Linked DNA regions of Homo sapiens: all the other regions are linked to region 2. Evidence: promoter capture Hi-C in 16 types of primary human blood cells and fetal thymus (Javierre and others, 2016). All regions are on one chromosome and are shown on one strand. The core of a region is centred on a gene start or on the middle of the fragment in contact, and the rest is flanking DNA. Distances in the headings are between cores, read along the strand shown. Region 1 has its middle 7.7 kb from the start of YTHDC1. Region 2 holds the start of TMPRSS11D (transmembrane serine protease 11D). Region 3 has its middle 57 kb from the start of TMPRSS11F. Region 4 has its middle 38 kb from the start of YTHDC1. Region 5 overlaps CENPC (centromere protein C). Region 6 holds the start of STAP1 (signal transducing adaptor family member 1). Region 7 overlaps YTHDC1 (YTH N6-methyladenosine RNA binding protein C1).

Region 1 (2,700 bases), core at 145-2,644, 470 kb before region 2:
TCTCTTTTAATAAGTACATTAACCCAACTGGATCAGGACCACACCCTTATGAACTCATTTAAGTTTAATAACCTCCTTAAGGTCTTATTTTCGAATATAGTCATATTGGGGAATAGGGCTTCAACATATGAATTTGGGGGTGGATGGGAGTTCATTCCATAGCACTACCCTGGGCCTGGATGGGCAAGTGGAAGGCAGAGTTACTAGAGCCCAGATAGAATAGATGTATAGATAGGGTTGAAAAGGAATTGAGGTCATAGATAGAGAGACAGAGCTACCCTATGTTAACCCTACATAGAGGGAGCCATGAAAATAAATAGTTCAAAACCCTTACTTTCTTCCTATCTTCAAATGCCTGAACTCAACCAAAACTGAGAGAAGATAAACGATTATTGTGTAGTCCCTATGAATGAGATTCTTAAGGAATAGAGCAAGGTGGAAAATTGATCAGGGTGGCCACAGATATCCAGCACACCCTGTATCAAGATGCCACCAAGAAGCCGGCGTGATGGCTCACAACTGTAATCCCACCACCTTGGGAGGCCGAGGTAGGCGGATCACTTAAGGCCAGGAGTTTGAGACCAGCCTGGCCAACATAGTGAAACCCCATCTCTACTAAAACAACAAAAAATTAGCCAGGCATGGTGCCGCGCACCTGTAATCTCAGCTACTTGGGAGGATGAGGCAGAAGAATGCTTGAACCCAGGAGGAGGAGATTGTAGTGAGCCGATATCATGCCACTGCACTCCAGCCTAGACAACAGAGCGAGACCCTGTCTCAACAACAACAACAACAACAACAACAAAAAGACTAAATGTTTACTCAGAAGAAACTTTGTTCCTAATAAAGATAACAAGTCAGGCGCTGTGGCTCATGCCTGTAATTCCAGCACTTTGGGAGGCTGAGGTGGGCAGATCACTTGAGGTCAGGAGTTCGAGACCAGCCTGGCCAACATGGCAAAAACCCATCTTTACTAAAAATACAAAAATTAGCCAGGCATGGTGGTGCTTGCCTATAGTCCTAGCTACTCGGGAGGCTGAGGAAGGAGAATCGCTTGAACCCAGGAAACAGAGGTTGCAGTGAGCCAAGATCGCACCACTGCACTCCAGCCTGGGCCACATAGGGCATACTCTGTCTCAAAAAAAAAAAAAAAATCCCTTATAAGACTGTGATAAGAATTAAGTGAGGTAAAATATAGGCAGCACACAGAGCAGATTGGGCACAGTCAGTACTCAGAAAATGTCAGCTACCGATATTACTCAAAAGTAAGCAGAACAACTTCAGAATTCCAGAATTCTATAAATATCTCAGGAATAATTAACCATGTTTTCCAAAAAAGGGCCTTGTAAAATGTTATCTTTTTTTGGAAGTACTTATATTTTGATAGTCTATTTCCTGTTATGAAACTCAATAAACCAATATAATTGCTATTAAAGGATTCAAGGCTGCATTCTGTGGTACATGTAAAAGCTAAATGAAAATTTAACATTGACATCCTACTGTGGAAGAAAAGGCTTAGGTACCTGGTCTTAAATCTGAAGATTAATACATTTCCAAATTTAAGAATACCCAGTGATATTTAAATATTCCTTTTATTTATTTTTCAATTAAAAATATAATTGGTGTTATTGTAATTAAATCACAAGCTGTTTCAGAATGTTAAATAAGATAATATATGTCAAAAAGAAGTTATAAGTAAATGTATTGGTAAAATGTTAGTTATTTTAAAACTACAACATATGCTAAATTTCACAGGCAGGAACTTGGCACAACACAAATGACTCTGCTGCATTACACTGTTAAAGAAAATCACAGTTGAATAGTAGCTAGAGCAGAAAAAACAAATTTTATTTAGTAAATATTGCAATGTAGGAAAATAAACCTCAGTATGGAATTGGGCTCAATTCTGAATACAGCATGAACAAGGGGAGATTTATAGCAAATGAACAGGGTTGGGGGTCAGTGGATTGAAAATTACTAAGAGGAAACATTAGGGGTGTCTTTGTCCATTTTGTGCTGCTGTAACAGAATACCTGAGACTGGGTAATTTATTTATTTATTTATTTATTTATTTATTTTTTTTTGAGACGGAGTCTTGCTCTGTATGCCCAGGCTGGAGTGCAATGGCGCAATCTCGGCTCACTGAAATCTCCGCTTCCCGGGTTCAAGCGATTCTCCTGTCTCAGCCTCCTGAGTAGCTGGGATTACAGGCATGAACCACCACGCTTGGCTAATTTTGTATTTTTAGTAGAGACGGGGTTTCTCCATGTTGATAAGGCTGGTCTTGAACTCCTGATCTCAAGTGATCCACCCACCTTGGCCTCCCAAAGTGCTGGGATTACAGGCGTGAGCCACCATGCCTGGCCCAAGAGACTGGGTCATTTATAATGAACAGAAATTTATTGGTTCATAGTTCAGAAAGCTGAGAAGTTCAATGTCAAGGTGCTGACATCTGGTAAGAGCCTTCTTGCAGCATCATTCCATGGTGGAAGGCAAAAAGGCCAACAGAGGGTTGAAGTCTCCTTTTTATAATATCAGTCCCACTTATGAGGGTGGAGCCTTTATTGCCTAATCACCTCTTAAGGGTCTCACTTCTTAATACTGTTACAATGGCAATTAAATTTCAACATGATTTTGGAGGGGACAAACATCCAAATCATAGCAAGGGGTAAGAGGAGATTCTTGCTAAACTGATTTGAT
Region 2 (2,775 bases), core at 27-2,526:
ATGATATAACTATATTTAAAGGTACTTGAAGTTAACATGTAAAATTTAAAAATGGTTTGTTTAGGTAACTTTATTTTTTAAACTTTTAAATCTTATTATAGTTATTTATTTATTGCTAAAAAATCAATGGCAGAATGTCAGGCATGAGATACTGTATGTAAAAAATATATTTCCCAAATATATTTGGGAAAAAACATATAAGTAACCACTTATTCCTGTCTCTGTTGTTTGATTTGCACATTATATAGAAAAAGTCAAGTAACTGAACACATCTGAAGTTGCAGTATTGGAGTAAATTTAACCATTAGTTGTCAGTGCTTTACAAGATGAAGTCATAGAATTTTATAATTGAGAGTCCTCTAAGACCTCCTGATTCAGCTTCCACTTTTCTTAGTAGATACATGTGACTTATGGAGAAATAAGTAAATTTTTTCCCTTAAGCTACACAATTAGTTGGTGAAAAAGCTAAGACTAGAATTCATATTGTACTACTAATAATATTGTAATAATTCTATTACAAGTTCCAATTCTTTAGCATTCATTAGTTCTCACAAAGTAACCCCAGTATAACCTTCCAAATTTATATCCTGCTTCTTTGCAATGTTAGACAGGAATGCCCTTTTTCCCCTCCCTGCTAGTCTTGCCTGTTTTCTTGAGCTCTCCATCCTTACCCTAACACCCTACACACTCATACTGTCTTCTTCTGTCTGCTCCTCTTCTAGTAGTAGTGTGTTAGAATAGCTTTTTCAAATGATCATATTTGGAAAAAAACAAAGTGGATTTTAGTTCCAACTATTCTGTTTGCTTGTCTTACTTTGTGCATCTACTCAATTATGCTCTGTTTCATATATTATGAGAAAAACTGCATTTAATCATACAGATGAGGGAATTCAGAGGTAGTGCCCATTAATGTACGGAAAGTATGTTCTGATGGATCTTGGCTGGCTGTGTTGAGGAATGAGGTGTATAACAATATGATAACATGAGCAAAATAAGTGTCAAATCCTCTTGAACTAAAAGTGACTCTACAGTTGTGAAGTAGTCACAGGCTTTCACAAAATACCTGTCAATTGTAATTGTGTTTAATCTCAATTTACCAGAATAAATAAATTTCTTACTAATTTGTGAAATTCCCTGTCTATTTCCAATTATCTTCCACAAGTCATACTATTGGTTTGTTGATTCCCTCAAACTTGTTTAACAAGTTAGATTTTAATTAACATGAGATTTCCTCCTTTGTCCTCAACTATAGATCACACGTAATACATGAGAGTCATTCATTTGAGTGGGAATCTCAAAGCAGTTGAGTAGGCAGAAAAAAGAACCTCTTCATTAAGGATTAAAATGTATAGGTAAGTCCTGTTTTTGTCTTTGTAGCTTTAAAAGTTTTACTATATCTTACAGTATGGGAAAAATATAAAGAAGCTTAGCAAATTTTGACTGTGTCTAGCAATCTTCTAGTTACTTCTCTGAAAACTTCATCGAAACTCTTAGATATTGTTTAGATAATATGCTTGATATTATTTTCATAAGGTACATAGTTGCTTAACTGAATTTTTTATAAAACAACCACAAAAATACTTAGCTTAGCGTTATGACAACATATCTTTAAATAAGGAAGTGGTTTTGTTTCTCATGTGCAACATTTCGAAAAGTGGTGTGTGGATTTTAAAATTGCAATCAGTAAACAATTCTTGTGTTGTTTGGAACTTTTCGAGGATTCTGTGTTTTGACTTCCATTACAGTTTTATTGCTAGCTATTAAATAAATATGCCATAAATCCTAAAGTACACTTTTAGAAAGTAAAGACGGTATTTTTCTACTTTTTATATAGTTGTAGAATTATTTTCAAGAAAGTTCTTGCTAACATTTAAGAGAAAATAATCTCTCTCTGGTTTTCTTTTTAGTTAATGAATAAGTATTTTCCTATACTTTCACATAAAGAAAGAAAAAAGTTGTGAGATAATCAAGTCACACGTTAACATCTCAAAACAATGAAATAATTATGTAACTTGGTATGTTTATGTGTGCACTTAAGTGTATATATTATGCATATTATTTTTCTATGACTACAGGAAAACATGATACTGATAAGTCATGCTGAAAGGATCAACAAAAGCATGAACAATGTGTTAGCTATAATAAGTGCAGCTGAATTTATTTTAAATCTCCTGAACATTGGAAAATTCAATCAAAAGTCAAACCATTTTAAGTAATAAAAATATATATACAGTTATATGCACTTGAATATATATATATGAGTGAAAAGTGGATAGCTGTCTAAGCTTCCAATGATAGAAGAAATAAAATCATTTCATATTCATGTAATAGATACAAGAAATGTATTAAAGTAGCTTAAAAACCTATGAAGTAATTTACATACTGAGTTTGTTCTTATTTTATGTGAAAAAAACAAATCACAAAATTGTATTTACTCATCAACTACTACTTTGTAAAGCTATACATGGGAGAAAGTCTAATAAAGAACATAGAACATTAATCAGGTTTGTTATACTAAAGCAGTGAGTTTATGAATTATATTTTTTATTGTTCTTAAACCATCTATAAGTGTAATATTATTTGGGTAATATAGTGCATTTTAAAATGTATTTTGCTGAAATATTTTAATTTTAAAGAAATTACTCTGATTTTAAAATATTGCCCTTATAAGCAGTCAAGTGTATATCAAAACATCATTCAATGGAAAATAATAAAAGAAGACATGTAAATGATACAAATCCTGAAAGAGTTGTACAATTTCAGAAGGCTTTGAAT
Region 3 (2,700 bases), core at 48-2,547, 300 kb before region 2:
TGCTTAACCTAAAGGTACTCCACAAACCCACAAAAGAGCAGAAGAAACCAAGCTATGAAAGATCAGACAAAGAGGAAGAAAATGCTGTTTTCAGCAACATATGAAAACTTTATGTTGTTTCCAGTCCTGATAACAACAGAGTGACAGCACATATATGGCTGGTATTCAAGGGTCCAAGATCAATGAAAGAAAACACAAGAAAAAGAATTGAAAGTATCTTACATCAGATGCTGAAGAACCACTCAGGATCCTTGACTACAGATCTGAATTCTCTGAGGCTTATGGGTAAGCTCATGATGGGAGTGGTGTTACTTTCATCATTTTATCCCTAGCATATATCACAAATATCAGACACAAAACTGATCTTCAATATTTTCAAATGAATGTCACTTTTATATCAGAGCAATTATTTGTATTCTTCACTATTAAAAACACAATCAAATCACAATAATACCAAACCTTTTACTTGATTCAGGGGTGAGGGCAGGCTGCTTTTCATTCAAAAGCAGATATTGATACTTTAAACAGTCCTTATAAGTACTGATGTGTCTTGCTAATCTTTTAAAAATCTCCTATAACTTTCAAAAACAGCAGTGGACCCACCATTATAAGACAGGTCACTTTTTAAAAGTTATCTTTTTGTATACTGACAGGAATTAGGTTCACTTGTAGGGAATTCCTCTTCTTCTAAGAAAAGACACTCACAGTTTTCCACTTTAGATGATGTAGAATACAATTCTAATCAAATAAGAAAGAAGTCTCTCCTGCGGAGCCATGAAGATGGTACCTCCATATCATACATTCATGTATAGTAAAAGAACAATTCCAATAAACCAGTGTTCTCTCCTTTGTATTAACACTTTATTTTGAAATTTCAAATTATTTACGGACTCTTCTGCCCTGCTTGACCTATCGTCTTAATCCATCGCCCCAAGGTCAGAGGTGCTAGGTTTTAAATTTACTATGAATTTTTTGTTCTATTTCAGAAATCAGTAAGGTCAGTGCTGCAAAAATTATCAACAACCGTAAGTTCAGATACTTTTTAATTAAATTTATGAGGTGATCTAAAGCACAGCAATCATGATTTGTTACTATTGGTTAGGAACAGTTCTAAGTGTTTTACATATACAGTAATTCATTTAATATTTGTAACCATCCTACAGATGGTTATGATTATGATTCCATTTTTGAGATGGGGAAACTGAAGCACAAAGAAGTGAAATGATTGCCCAAATTCATCCAGCTTGTAAATGGCGAGGCCAGAATTCAAACTCAGGGAGTCTGGTTGCAGAGCATGGACTTAACCATAACTTTATCTGCCTTCCACAGCTCACACATTCTCCAAGTGCTGGTGTCTTGGAGACAGTATGTTGGGTATGCAAGCAATCCACTGGCTGCTAGTGATTCCTGTACAGATTACACTGTACCTATCAGCACAAGATATTGTCAGATATAACCACACAAAGCCAACTCAGCTCACTCTCTGCTTTGTAATCAAATGTTATTTTCCTATTTTTAATGAAGCAAAACTGACTTTTTCTGACAGGCTGTGGGAGACGAGCAAGGATGCCACCTACATTTGATAGAGTCAGGGGAGGTTCCATTGATCAGGAAGGAGAATGACCATGACAAGCAAGCCTTAAAATGAGTGGGCAACACTACTGTGGGGCATCATTGATCAGTGAAAGACACTTGGTGACTGCAGCTCACTGTTTTAAAGTGTTAAGTTCATTATGTTGCCCAAAGCTACAGAAACCAAAGGCTTTGGAGGAAGTTCCAGTTTGCACCTGTTATCCCTGTTTAAATATTAGCAGCACTCCCTTTCATTCTCAAAAGTGTCCCGGTTTGGAAGAAAAATTATATGGTAAGCCTATCTAAGACTTTCCTAACTTTTCAGTAAAAATGGGAAGAGTCATTCATTCTGGACAGTGCATTTTTTCTTCACATGATACTCACCTCTCATCACTTTATAATACAGACATCCTAAACTACTTGTAGTTGCTGAAACACATTCTATTTCATATGTACCTTCCTCTCTGCACATGCCTGCCCCCATCTCCTTGCCTTTTAGGCAAATGCGACTTAGTCCATAGTCTTATCCAAAATGCTATTTTCCCTAAGAAATCTTCCATTCCTTTAAGAATACAGATTTAAGTCTTCCTATTTTGTAGTCCCACTAATTATATACACCACTATTTAACCTATTATAACTGCTAGTGTTTACACCTACCTTTCACCAGATTTAAACTTTTCGATGGCATGGCCATTTATTTTTATTCTATTCCCCCATTGCCTTACATGGTGTATGGTGTAGGAACTCAAGATTTTTTCAAATGAGTTAAAAATCAGATTATATCATTGCTAATGGACTATAGAGCAAGGAAATATTCATGCCAAGAAAAGAGTACAGTAGATGCAGAATGTATCTCTATTATCTTGAAATAAGTACAAAATACATGATTTTTATTTCTTTAGGACAAAAAATCCAAAAAACTATACTGTCAGCTTTGGCACGAAAGTAACTCTTCCCTATATGCAACATGATGTTCAACAAATTATTATTCATGAAGACTACATCCAGGATGAACATCATGATGATATCGCACTTATACTGCTCACTAAAAAAGTTTTATTTAAGAATGATGTACATCGAGTTTGTCTTCCTGAAGCCACACAGATTTTTCCACCTGGTGAAGGAGT
Region 4 (2,790 bases), core at 271-2,770, 500 kb before region 2:
TGTTGTAGGAGTTATTAAGAAATTATTTTAGGCAGATAGAGAGGAAAAGGGGTCCTTGGGAAGTTTTCGTTTTTAAAGCAGCTCTTAGAGCCAGGCTGGCAACCTTTGATATGCAAATGCCATCCATTAGAAACTGGGTCCACCCAAACATGGCTATTCCCACTGCCATCTTGACCTTGCCCCACACTTCCTGGCAACATGGCCGCCCCCACATATCCCCACGTGGGTAGAACATCATGGTGCCCTGCATTGGCATATTAAAAGGCTAGGGTGGGAGGGCAGGCTTTTTCCTGGGCTATATGAATGACATGCTTTGTCAAACCAATCCCCTGAGCCCTATACAAATCAGACACTGCCTCCTCCAGCCTCTGTATATATACCTGGCTGGTATCCCTGCCAGATGGGGTTCCCTCTCTCGGCTTTGGAGCCCCCCTCCCTCTGTCTCTGTACAGGAGAGCCTCTTCCTTCTGCCTTCTCTTTTCTTTCTTGCCTATTAAACTTTCCGCTCCTTAAAACCACTCCACGTGTGTCAGTGTCGTTTTATCTAAACCAGCATGAGGACGTAGAACTTGGTGTTCCTCCACTCATCGGCGCTGTATCATCATCATGACAACGTTCAAACATTTTAACAATGTGCATATTAATGACTGGTCACCTGCATAATTCCCCTAGAAATCTGCCTACTAATCTCACCACTCACAGAAGCAGTTGTGAAACTGTTGATGTGTGTAGTTATTTCTAAAAAGCCCCAAGACAGATATTAATTATAGTATAAGGGTGGGTGGATGCATATAATTTGGGATTTTAAACTCAGAGATACTTATCTAAAAACTCCATGACAACGAAACTTTGTCAGTGATGCTTTCACACATGCAAGGAAGATTCAGCTACCTGGAGAATGGAGGGTGTAGTCACCCCAAAAATAAGCTGGGTTATGCTTTGATTGCAAAGGCCTGGGGCAAATGCTAAAAAAAAATTGTTCCTCTTCGGCTTTCTTTTCTTTGTTTTTAGTGTTGTAAATGCTGAGCAGCCTCATTCACAGTAGTCAGAAAATTTGATCTTTGGCATTGAAATTGAAATAGCAGTTTCTCATTTTCAGGAAGCAAAGAATCTCATTTATCCAAGGGAGAGGCAGTCACTTTTCTGTGGACTGGTAAATCCCTTCCATGTTTACCTGGGAAAGACCTCTTGGAAGTTGTACTTTTGTAGCTAAAATTGTCAGTTTGAAAATATGATGTGACTTAGAAATCTTTTCCCCTGCTATTACAGTAGTGTCATTGACTCGTTTCTAAGAAACTATCATGAAACTCTTATCTGAGGAGCCATTACTTTTTATTACTAAGTTGGGCAGGTTTTAAAACTAGCGACATGGAGCGACAATGTCTGAAATGTAAGTCAGTCATCTTTATTGTTCTAAATAAGGGTTTAAAGCATATAACTATTATAATATGTGATCTAACAAAATGGAAGGAGGGAAAGACGAGAGAGAGAGAGAGAATGGCTTTGTGGAACAAATTGTGAGCATTAAGCTAGATATAATAGAGCTGCTAATCAGATCTAGCTCTTCATATGAGATTTCCACAGGCATAAATACTAATTGGGATGGAGTCATCTACTAAATAATGAGTTCATGCTAAAGGAGTCATCCAGACCATCCTTCTTACAGACTTTAAAGACTGACAATTTCTAAAGTCCCTCAAATATGTTTTAATATTCATCTCTCGGCCGGGCACGGTGGTTCATGACTGTAATCCCAGCACTTAGGGAGGCCGAGGCGGGTGGATCACCTGAGGTCAGGAGTTCGAGACCAGCCTGGCCAACATGGTAAAACCCCGTCTCTACTAAAAACACAAAAATTAGCCAGGCATGGTGGTGGGTGCCTGTAATTCCAGCTACTTGGGAGGCTGAGGCAGGAGAATCGCTTGAATCCTGGAGGCAGAGGTTGCAGTGAGCCGGGATCATGCCATTCCATTCCAGCCTGGGCAACAAGACTGAAACTTGGTCTCAAAAAACAAAACAAAACAAATATTCATCTCTCCTCCTTGCTTTGCAAATTGCAGCTCTCTGAGGTTCTTCTCTACTCTGCAGACTAAATTAGCCACTTCCTTCTCTTTGTCTGCAGAATACCTTATAGATTCCTCTTTTGTAATCATAGCTAATACATATAATGCTTATTCTATGCCTCTATGCCAGCCATTGTTCTAGGTTCTTTTTTTTTTTTTTTTTTTTTTGAGATGGAGTCTCTCTCTGCTGCCCAGGCTAGAGTGCAGTGGCACAGTCTCGACTCACTGCAACCTCTGCCTCCTGTGTTCAAACTATTCTCCTGCCTTAGCCTCTCGAGGAGTGGGGATTACAGGCATGTGCCACCACCCCCAGCTAGTTTTTGTATTTTTAGTAGAGATGGGGTTTCGCCATGTTGGCCTGACTGGTCTGGAACTCCTGACCTCAGGAGATCCACCCACCTTGGCCTCCTAAAGTGCTGGGATTACAGTCGTGAGCCACTGTGCCCGGCCCGTTCTAGGTTGTTTACATAGATTAACTCATTTAAACTTCAAGTAATTCCAGGGAAGTTTCTGTTACTATCCTCATTGAGGCACACAGATTTTACATAACTTTTCAAAGGTTACCCATCCAGGCCAGGCACAGTGGCTCACTCCTGTAATCCCAATACTTTGGGAAGCCAAGATGGGAGGATTGCTTGAGCCCAGGAGTTCAAGACCAGCCTGGGCAACATAGTGATACCCACAAAAAATTTAAAAATTAGCCAGGCGTGGTGGTGCACGCCTGTGG
Region 5 (2,700 bases), core at 149-2,648, 340 kb after region 2:
TGTTACTTGGAGATGTGACTGTAAAGTCTGTTAAAGAAGCATTTCAGGACTGATTGGATTCATTCAAAAAAATTTGTGTTTTTGAGATACAGCAGTAATCTAAAACAGCTTTAGACATGGCTGTTCAACTAAGAAATATTAATTGTTAAGGTAGATTATGATATACTAATTCTTATTAGGAAGGAAAGAGTTCACTTGAGGGAATGTATAGACCCTCAAGTACTTGTTTTGTCTTCAAATAGTAAAGATATTTTACATATTAAGTAAATTTATATTTTATAATGAGATGTGGAATTTTCAAAGAGATGGTAATATAAAGAAATATCTTCTGAAAATGACAGGCTGTATTTTTCCTTTATTAGGGCACGTGACATTAACACAGAGCAAGGCCAGAATGTTCTGGAAATCTTACAAGACTGTTTTGAAGAAAAAAGTAAGGCTTCATTTCAAGATGGAATTTAAGGGTTAGATGGATGAAAATATGAATTTGTCATGGTAATTAATATCAAATGCAGCAAATATGTTCTAGGGTTTAAATATATGGAAAATATTTTCCCTGGTATTTTGAGTTCATATGCAATCCTTTGTGTACCTTCTGGTATACTTAGGATAATACTGACAAAAAATAATAATTTGACAATAATTTGTCATCCCGTTTAGTTCACATTAAATTACTGTAATCTGGAAGTCCATACATAATTATCATACACAAGAAAAAGTATTTTATTATTTATTTATTTATTGAGACATAGTCCTGCGGTGTCACCCAAGCTGTAGTACAGTGGTGCTATCTCAACTCACTGCAACCTTTGCCTCCCAGGTTCAAGTGATTCTTGTGCCTCAGCCTTCCAAGTAGCTGGGATTACAGGTGTGTGCCACCACGCCTGGCTAATTTTTGTATTTTTTAGTAGAGACCAGGTTTCACCATGTTGGCTAGTCTGGTCTCGAACTCCTGCCCTCCAGTGATCTGCCCTCTTCAGCCTCCCAAAGTGTTGGGATTACAGGCATAAGCCACTGCATCTAGCCAGAAAAAATATATAATGAAAATAGATGTGTAGAATTCTTGGAATCGCTGGAGAATTTGAGATAATCTTTGGTGATTTACATATCTGTTTAAGGAAGTCATAAATTACAGCAAAAACTTTTCCAAGTGCTGATTAGCATCAGCAGGTATTGGAATAAGAGAATAAGCCAGCCAAAGAAATAGGGGCAGATGATAGAAAAGAATGTTTTCTATACAAGCTCTGAAAGAAGAGCTGGCATATATTGATACTTCAGGTGTTTTGTTTGCTTTTCTCATTTCCTGATGCTTCTCAGGAACATTTGAATATTAAATTGAGGTCTCTACTTGATTTAAGCTAATTGTGGTCAGTGAGTCAACAGATGGTTCTTCACATGTCATATACAGCTACTTTTAATTGTGACTAATAGATATTACACTATATCTTGTTTTTGAAAATTTCATACTTTTGTTTTAGGTCTTGCCAATGATTTTAGTACAAATTCTACAAAATCAGTGCCTAATTCAACACGCAAAATAAAAGACACTTGTATTCAGTCACCAAGCAAAGAGGTAAGTGATAAAGAAGAGCTGGTATAGGTTTAATATTTTAATGAATGAAGGTATACACAATATACTCATGTATATTTTAGTTGTTTGTAAGTCTTATTCTTGAAAGGGAATTCTATATTCCCATTGACTTTCTATAAAATTTGGAGGTATTTTGTGAAAAGTTTTATTTGATATTTTCTGTTGGAATTGGGATTATGGGAATTAGAATTATCAAATTATAATAAACATTTTTCACTTCTCCTAAAATAATACTCAAATTAGGTTTTTAGGAAAATGGGCAGTGATCAAAGTTGCTAATCAGGTTGGCAGGGTTGGTTATATTCTAATAAATGAAGGCACTTCATTGTTATACGGGGAAATCAATCTTCTGTTGATTATATATTTTAATTGCTGTTAGTTTGATCAGAAATAAAGTATTGGTTGACTTAACTATACTAAGTAGCAGACTTTCAAATAAAGTATTTGAAGCTAATCTAAGGCAAATTATTCAAAAGCACAATACTAATTAGAAAAATCATATAGTGCTAGAAGTAACACTTACTAGAAAACTGTAAAAGGCAATCAACATATTAAACATATGTAGCCTTTTGGTTCCAAGCAATGCAGACAAAACCATTTCTTTCAGAATTGAGAGGCCTTCTGAAACTTGATAAATTACAATGGTTTTTGAAAGTTAAAGCAACTTTAGGTTTTCTGGGATAAACTTGACTTGGTCATAAAGTATTAACTTTTTTTGATTAGGTTTGCCTAATATTGAAGATGTTTGCATCTATGTTTATGAATAATATTGTCTTTTTTTGAAAAATGTTCTTACAGGGCTTTGGTATCAAGGTTATGCTAGAGGTTCCTCTTCTAGGTAGAATGCAGTAAGTCACAGAAGGCTAACACTCCTGCTAAAGCAGCTATTTTAAAAAATGGAAACAAATTTTAGATATATGAGAAGCTGTGGAAACAATAAAGACTAGCAAAATATAGTCTGTGGCTAATTTTCTTCCCTTCTGAGGCAAAATTCTTCTCTACTGTGTCCCGTTACTTATGGAGGTTTTCCACTCTGGCTGGTAGATTATTCTAGGTCCTTTGTAACTGGGAGGATATTCCCCCTCAAGGCTTCGGGTGGTTCTTTCTCT
Region 6 (2,816 bases), core at 19-2,518, 330 kb after region 2:
GATCAATCTAAAAAATTCTAATATAACTGAAAGGTAATTATTTATGCATGTTTAACATCCATAACAGAATACAAATTACCATGTCTTTACTCTCAAATAGTAAATGATCTGATTATATATGTAAGAAATGTGAATATGCTATTATAGATTTTTCATATATATAATTTTTCCACAAGTATTCATAAATCCTCAGAAAATATATTTTAGCATCATTAAACATTTCTGATGGAATTTCTGAAAACCTTAAAATTTTTCTAGTTTTAGTCAGTATACAATTTCATAAAATTTGACCTAACTTAATGATTTTTTTATTTAATAACAGGCAATTTTGGGCTTATTTCTCTAATTAATTTCAAGTCATCCATAATTACTGTTTTAAAAGTAATGATTTTAACTAACTATAAGTTTTAATTATTACATTTAAAAATACAGAATGCTTCATGGATTTTCTTAGAGCAAAGGTATTTATGTAGCTTAGTGTACTTAATACCCACAGTAGTACCCCAAAAATTAAAAGTCACTATCTTGAATAGTATTTTAGAACACATAACTATATATAATGTTAAACAGTATGAACTTTGTCATTTTAACAATTTTTACAAAAGCCATTTTTAATAATTTGATCATTATAAACTTCAAATGACTCAGAACAGGAGCAGGTTTAATTTTAATCATGATATCATTTTATCTTAATGGTACATGTCATCATTGAAGCATAGCAATAAATTGTGGAGAAAATACAAGAAACATTTTATCTCCCAAGCCAAAATCTTTTGTGATATTTAAATAAATTCTTTGGAAATTTAGCTTATTGACTTTTTTATATTAGTGCCTTAATATTACAACCTCTGTTATTATACATATTATATATGTGTATACATACAGGTTTAAGCCAGACATTGTATTTAAATTATGAAAAATTGGAATCATTTTTCTGAGCTCAAAGAAGAGAAGATGATTTAATTTCAACAGAAACAAGGAGGTCTTAACACATCACATCACCATGAAATAAATATTAAATTAAAACAGAAGTCTTAGGTTTAACATTATCATCTATAGACTCACCCGGTATCCTGACCGCTTGATTAATAAAAAACCTTCAAAGTACAAAGGTAGAGCAGTAATCTTTAACCTTTCCTGGAAGATCCTGCGAGGGGCTGGTTTTGGGGGCTTCTTAGCCATCATACCCCTCTCTTTGGTGTGTGGTTTGGTTTCTCGTCTCAAACAAAATGAAATCTTCCTTCTGTGAGAGGAAAAGGCAACTGTTCAAAGAGGAAGTCCCAAATTGCTTTTTAACCACCAACACTACCACCAACAGGACACACACACACACAGACGCACACACACACACACACACTTTTTTTTCCATTACTTTTTGTGAGGTAAGAAAGAACAGGTGTAGACTGACTTTCAGAGGGCAATCTCTGGGTAATCCACATGTGCTTAGATTTAAAGCGCAAAATAAACAGAAGATTAACATCACCAGAAGATGAAAGAAACAGGTGTAGAGATTGTGAACTTTAGGGGAGATATCAAGAACACAGTTATTCTTTCTATCTTTGTTTTTGTTTATTGGTGTCCATTTTTATTTGCAGAAGACATGACTTGAATAAACTCAGCTTCATTAAAAATTACTTCATAGAATAATTTTATTAGTACTACTTCTGTTGGTTAAATATTTTAGGGTCAAGTTTTGTGTAAATAAAAAAAATAGTTGTATCTCATGCTCATTTGATGCTTCACTAAATATAAACCACAATTATGGGAACACGGAATATGGAATTTTTTTCTTTTTTCTTTCTTTCTTTTTTTTTTTTTTTTGCCAGTAGATATTCCAAGTACATGAGTTCCCAATGAATATTTAGTGCTATGTTTTGAATGTGTCCTCCAAAACTTATGTGTTAGAAACTTAATCCCCAATGCAACAGTGTTTAGAAATGGGACTTTTAGAAGGTGATTAAGTCATGAGGCCTCTGCCCTCATGAATGAATGAATTAATTAATGCTGTGGGAGTGGGTTTCTTTCTCTTTTTTCAGAGGCAGGGTCTTGCTCTGTTGCCCAGGCTGGAATACACTGGTGCAATCACAGCTCACTGCAGCCTTGACCTCTCAGGCTCAAACAATCCTCACACATCAGCCTCCTAAGTAGCTGGGACTACAAGGCACGCGCCACCACTCCTAGCTAACTTTTTCATTTTTTGTATAGACAGTATCTCCCTATGTTGCCCAGGTTGGTCTCAAACTCTTGGGCTCAAGCGATTCTCCTGCTGTGGCCTCCCAAAGTGCTGGGATTACATGTGTGAGCCATTGCACCTGGCCTGGAAGTGGGTTTTTTATAAAATCAAGTTTGGCACTTTCTCACATGCTATCATCCTCTCTTGCTCTTCTATCTTCTGCCATGGAATGATGCTGCATGAAGGTCCTCATCAGATGCTGGCCATGTTCTTTGACTTCCAGACTCCAGAACCATGAGCGAAATACATTTCTGTTCATTATAAATTACCAGTCTGTGGCATTCTGTTACAGCAACACAAAGGAGTCTAAGATATTTGGCAAAAAAATATCTGGCAGAGAAAGCTGTAAGTTTTCAAACTTTTATTTTGTTCTTTTGTGCTTTCTGAGCTGCAGACCATTGATACTATGATTCATGGATGGACTTCCCACAGTTATCTAGTGAGATTTATAAAGCTATACTGGGGCCAAAGTGCACTCAATGGTTGCATGTAGGAAATGGTCCTTAAGAGATTGGATTTGGCGTAGCACAGTGCAGGAAATGATGGGAGAAAAGAATACTAGAAGGAATTTTGATTTGTCTTA
Region 7 (2,805 bases), core at 187-2,686, 460 kb before region 2:
AAAGTCAACCTAGAACTAGTGGATATTACTTTATATCTAAAAGAGATAATTATTTCTTTTCAAAAAGGATATGCCAGTGATGATTATAGTCTTTAACAGCAGTAGCTTGTGAGAGTATTAAAATGTTTCTTCTTTTATAATTCATTCTACGTTAAAAAAATGAATTAAAATGTATGCAAAGTGTACTTTTTCAAGTCAGTGAAGAATATGGCCAGAAGCAGCAGTTTACATTAGCTTTATAACTTAATACTATAAGCTTTAACATTGACCTATTTAAATGAATTTTTGTTATTAAAAATGCACCTCAAGTATATAATTAAAATATTTACCCTTAAATAAAACTATAGTAATTTTGGAAACATCTGTCATGTATTATGTATGACACTTCTGTCAACAGTGATTGGAATATGTGTCCCCTCTGTTTGAAGCTAGGTAAGCTTTTGTGATGAATAAATACTGTGATGGTGTTGCTGGATTTCTACCTGTTCCCGTCTCTGTTGGGACACGAGAGTCCTAAACTACCATGTAAAAGATCTGCCTACTCGGTGGTTGCCATAGTAATGAGTAATCACACACACAGAAATGTTGGAGAAGCTCCAGCTTTGAATCTTCCCAGCCTAGACATCAACGAGACTTGTCAATGAACAAGCCTTCAGATGATTTCAGCCCCAGCCCCAGCCCCATTTGACTGCAGCCACATGGGAGACCCCGGTTGAGCCCTGGAACCATGAGCCATAATGAAAGGTGTTACCATTTTAAGTCAAGTTTTAGGGTGATCATCTTATACAGCAGTAGATAATCAGAACATGTATGCATATACCATACCTGTTTTGTTGAAGAAGGAATTTTGTTTTGTGTTCTGGACCAGATTTTATATATATCACATAGCCCAGTCATTAGCAAGAGGGTTGGGGCAGGCAGGTTTTATTAAAGTCCAATAGTTATAAGGAAGGAGAGTCTTCTTACAGGTTGAAAAACTCATAGAAGATTCAAATGTCCTGCTTTTCCTTTCCCCAAAACTGACCTTTTTTAAGTGCCTCTTATCAGAGGTGAAGAATCTTGAACTCAGAAAGACTGGGAATTTCCTGATACCTAAATGCAAGCTATAACCTGCATTTCCTTAACCTCCAAGACTTTTCCCCTTGTATATTATATTCCAGTGTATATATAAGGAGTTTCAGTGATGGAGAAAAGTACTTAAAATTTGGTCATTTGTATTATATCAGGGGTTGGCAAAACTCTTTGTAAAGGGCCAAATAGACTTTGTGGGCTGTAAGTGTTCTCTGACATATTCTTTGCTTTTTTTTTTTTCTTGTTAATAAGCGCCTTAAAAACGTAAAAACCATTCTTGCAGGCCATTCTAAATAGGCAATGGGCCATGTTTATCCTGTAGGTTTTAGTTTGCCAGTTTGTGGTAAAACCACACAGTTTATTGATGTTATGGACTATAATACGGATAAAAGTGTGTACATCATTTAAGTGAGGGTGTTATAGTTGATTTTGAATATTTCAGTAGATTTTAAATGTTGTAATGTTAAAGATATAGAGCTTTCTGGTGCACTAATTTGAAATTTATGTTCTAGTATATATGCCCTTTTAATATTTTGCATTTGTGTTCTTTATACTTTGGTTAAAGTTGCTTTTATTGTTCCCCATCTGATTTAACTGTCAATTTCTAAAGCCGGAACTTCATACTAATATCCATTTGTTACTAGACAAGTGTATTTGGTCAACTGGAACATTTGAGCTTCTCTTTCTTTATCTGCAAAGTAATGAATGATTAAACATGCTCTATTTTATATGATTTGTATATATGATATATTTTAAAAGTGATAAAATTTTAAAAGTGACAAAGTATTTTTAAAAAGTAGTAAGCATTGGTTAATATTTGTTGTCTTGAAAAAGGTTGTAGGTGCTTTCTAAAACTACAACCAGTATCTGAATTTGAATTCGTTAAAACTTTAAAACAGTAATACCCCTTTTTATAGGAAAACCAGGCTTTAAGTGTGTTTGAAACTTAAATTTATTTAAATTAACATTCTGCAAAATTATTTCATTCTGTATTAAATTTAGCATGTCTAAAGTATATAATATAAATGTTCAGGGTTCGGGGATGATATTTCTGAATAAGATCTAGTGATTTTATGAAAAGATTTGTATAGCATTATTTGCCTGTTTCATTGTGATAGTCTTGAAATTTTTTCTTTTTGTCTTCTACAAATGTATTTGATTCTGTGAAGACCTGTTGGATCTACTTTTTTACTGATTAGTGAGCTTTGACCCAGTACTTATTAAACATCTGTAAAACATTGATTTACTTCTATCAGACTATTTTTTTTATAATTTAGAGTCCGAAAATGGTGTTTGCCACCATTCAGATCTTGAAGAAATTTTTCTTAGCAAAAACATGAATCTAGATGATGAGAGAAGCTTTTTTGTTTGACATATCTTGATTTTAAATAAGATTTTTTAAAAGTAAACAAAAATAAAAACCCATATAGCCTGTTTTCATTTTAGAAAAATGATAGAAAGTACATATCAGCATTGGTACCACCCAAAATGATCAATTTTGCTATTCCAGACATAGTAATTTTCAGATATCTTTAGATTGTGTCTGTTTCCAAATGTAAAGGAAAATGATATCTTTTCCATTTCCTATGTAACCTTATCGTTTGTATTAACTATTCTCTTCAGTCACAGATTTCTTTCCCACTTTGGGGAAAATTTGAATCCCATTTAACCTGTTTATAGCCCCCAGGTTAATTAATAGACCTTTCTGTAATTCATGTGGGCTTTGTTTTTTTC

The links. The method cuts DNA at HindIII sites, captures the fragments that hold promoters and counts their contacts. A CHiCAGO score of 5 or more calls a contact.
Region 1: a fragment that was not itself captured here is called in contact with the fragment with the promoter of TMPRSS11D in region 2 in 1 of 17 cell types (neutrophils); the score reaches 6.5 in neutrophils.
Region 3: a contact is called between a fragment that was not itself captured here and the fragment with the promoter of TMPRSS11D in region 2, in 2 of 17 cell types (monocytes and M2 macrophages). The highest score is 5.4, in monocytes.
Region 4: a contact is called between a fragment that was not itself captured here and the fragment with the promoter of TMPRSS11D in region 2, in 1 of 17 cell types (monocytes). The highest score is 5.0, in monocytes.
Region 5: a fragment that was not itself captured here is called in contact with the fragment with the promoter of TMPRSS11D in region 2 in 1 of 17 cell types (M2 macrophages); the score reaches 5.1 in M2 macrophages.
Region 6: the fragment with the promoter of STAP1 here is called in contact with the fragment with the promoter of TMPRSS11D in region 2 in 8 of 17 cell types (naive CD8 T cells, erythroblasts, naive CD4 T cells and 5 more); the score reaches 8.6 in naive CD8 T cells.
Region 7: a contact is called between a fragment that was not itself captured here and the fragment with the promoter of TMPRSS11D in region 2, in 4 of 17 cell types (M0 macrophages, monocytes, M2 macrophages and 1 more). The highest score is 7.4, in M0 macrophages.

The regions. Positions count from the first base shown.
Region 1 is chr4:68,356,421-68,359,120 of GRCh38, reverse strand. No RefSeq gene overlaps it. Among named protein-coding and RNA genes, the nearest start is that of YTHDC1, 7.7 kb to the right of the region's middle. The HindIII fragment of the contact is 9,491 bases long and covers 1-2,700 here.
Region 2 is chr4:67,882,503-67,885,277 of GRCh38, reverse strand. It overlaps TMPRSS11D (transmembrane serine protease 11D), which reads left to right and starts at 1,276. Exons shown (of 10, transcript NM_004262.3): 1 at 1,276-1,352. The coding sequence starts at 1,345. The HindIII fragment of the contact is 7,558 bases long and covers 1-1,427 here.
Region 3 is chr4:68,186,009-68,188,708 of GRCh38, reverse strand. It overlaps the pseudogene FTLP10 and the pseudogene TMPRSS11BNL. Among named protein-coding and RNA genes, the nearest start is that of TMPRSS11F, 57 kb to the right of the region's middle. The HindIII fragment of the contact is 5,254 bases long and covers 1-2,700 here.
Region 4 is chr4:68,387,128-68,389,917 of GRCh38, reverse strand. No RefSeq gene overlaps it. Among named protein-coding and RNA genes, the nearest start is that of YTHDC1, 38 kb to the right of the region's middle. RefSeq lists enhancers at 1-477, 478-1,034. The HindIII fragment of the contact is 8,883 bases long and covers 1-2,790 here.
Region 5 is chr4:67,538,713-67,541,412 of GRCh38, reverse strand. CENPC (centromere protein C) reads left to right here. Exons shown (of 19, transcript NM_001812.4): 3 at 363-433; 4 at 1,479-1,573. Among named protein-coding and RNA genes, the nearest start is that of CENPC, 5.4 kb to the left of the region's middle. The HindIII fragment of the contact is 6,752 bases long and covers 1-2,700 here.
Region 6 is chr4:67,557,179-67,559,994 of GRCh38, reverse strand. It overlaps STAP1 (signal transducing adaptor family member 1), which reads right to left and starts at 1,268. Exons shown (of 9, transcript NM_012108.4): 1 at 1,066-1,268. The coding sequence starts at 1,185. The HindIII fragment of the contact is 12,125 bases long and covers 1-2,816 here.
Region 7 is chr4:68,340,094-68,342,898 of GRCh38, reverse strand. All of the region lies in intron 1 of YTHDC1 (YTH N6-methyladenosine RNA binding protein C1), which reads left to right. Among named protein-coding and RNA genes, the nearest start is that of YTHDC1, 8.6 kb to the left of the region's middle. The HindIII fragment of the contact is 1,993 bases long and covers 440-2,432 here.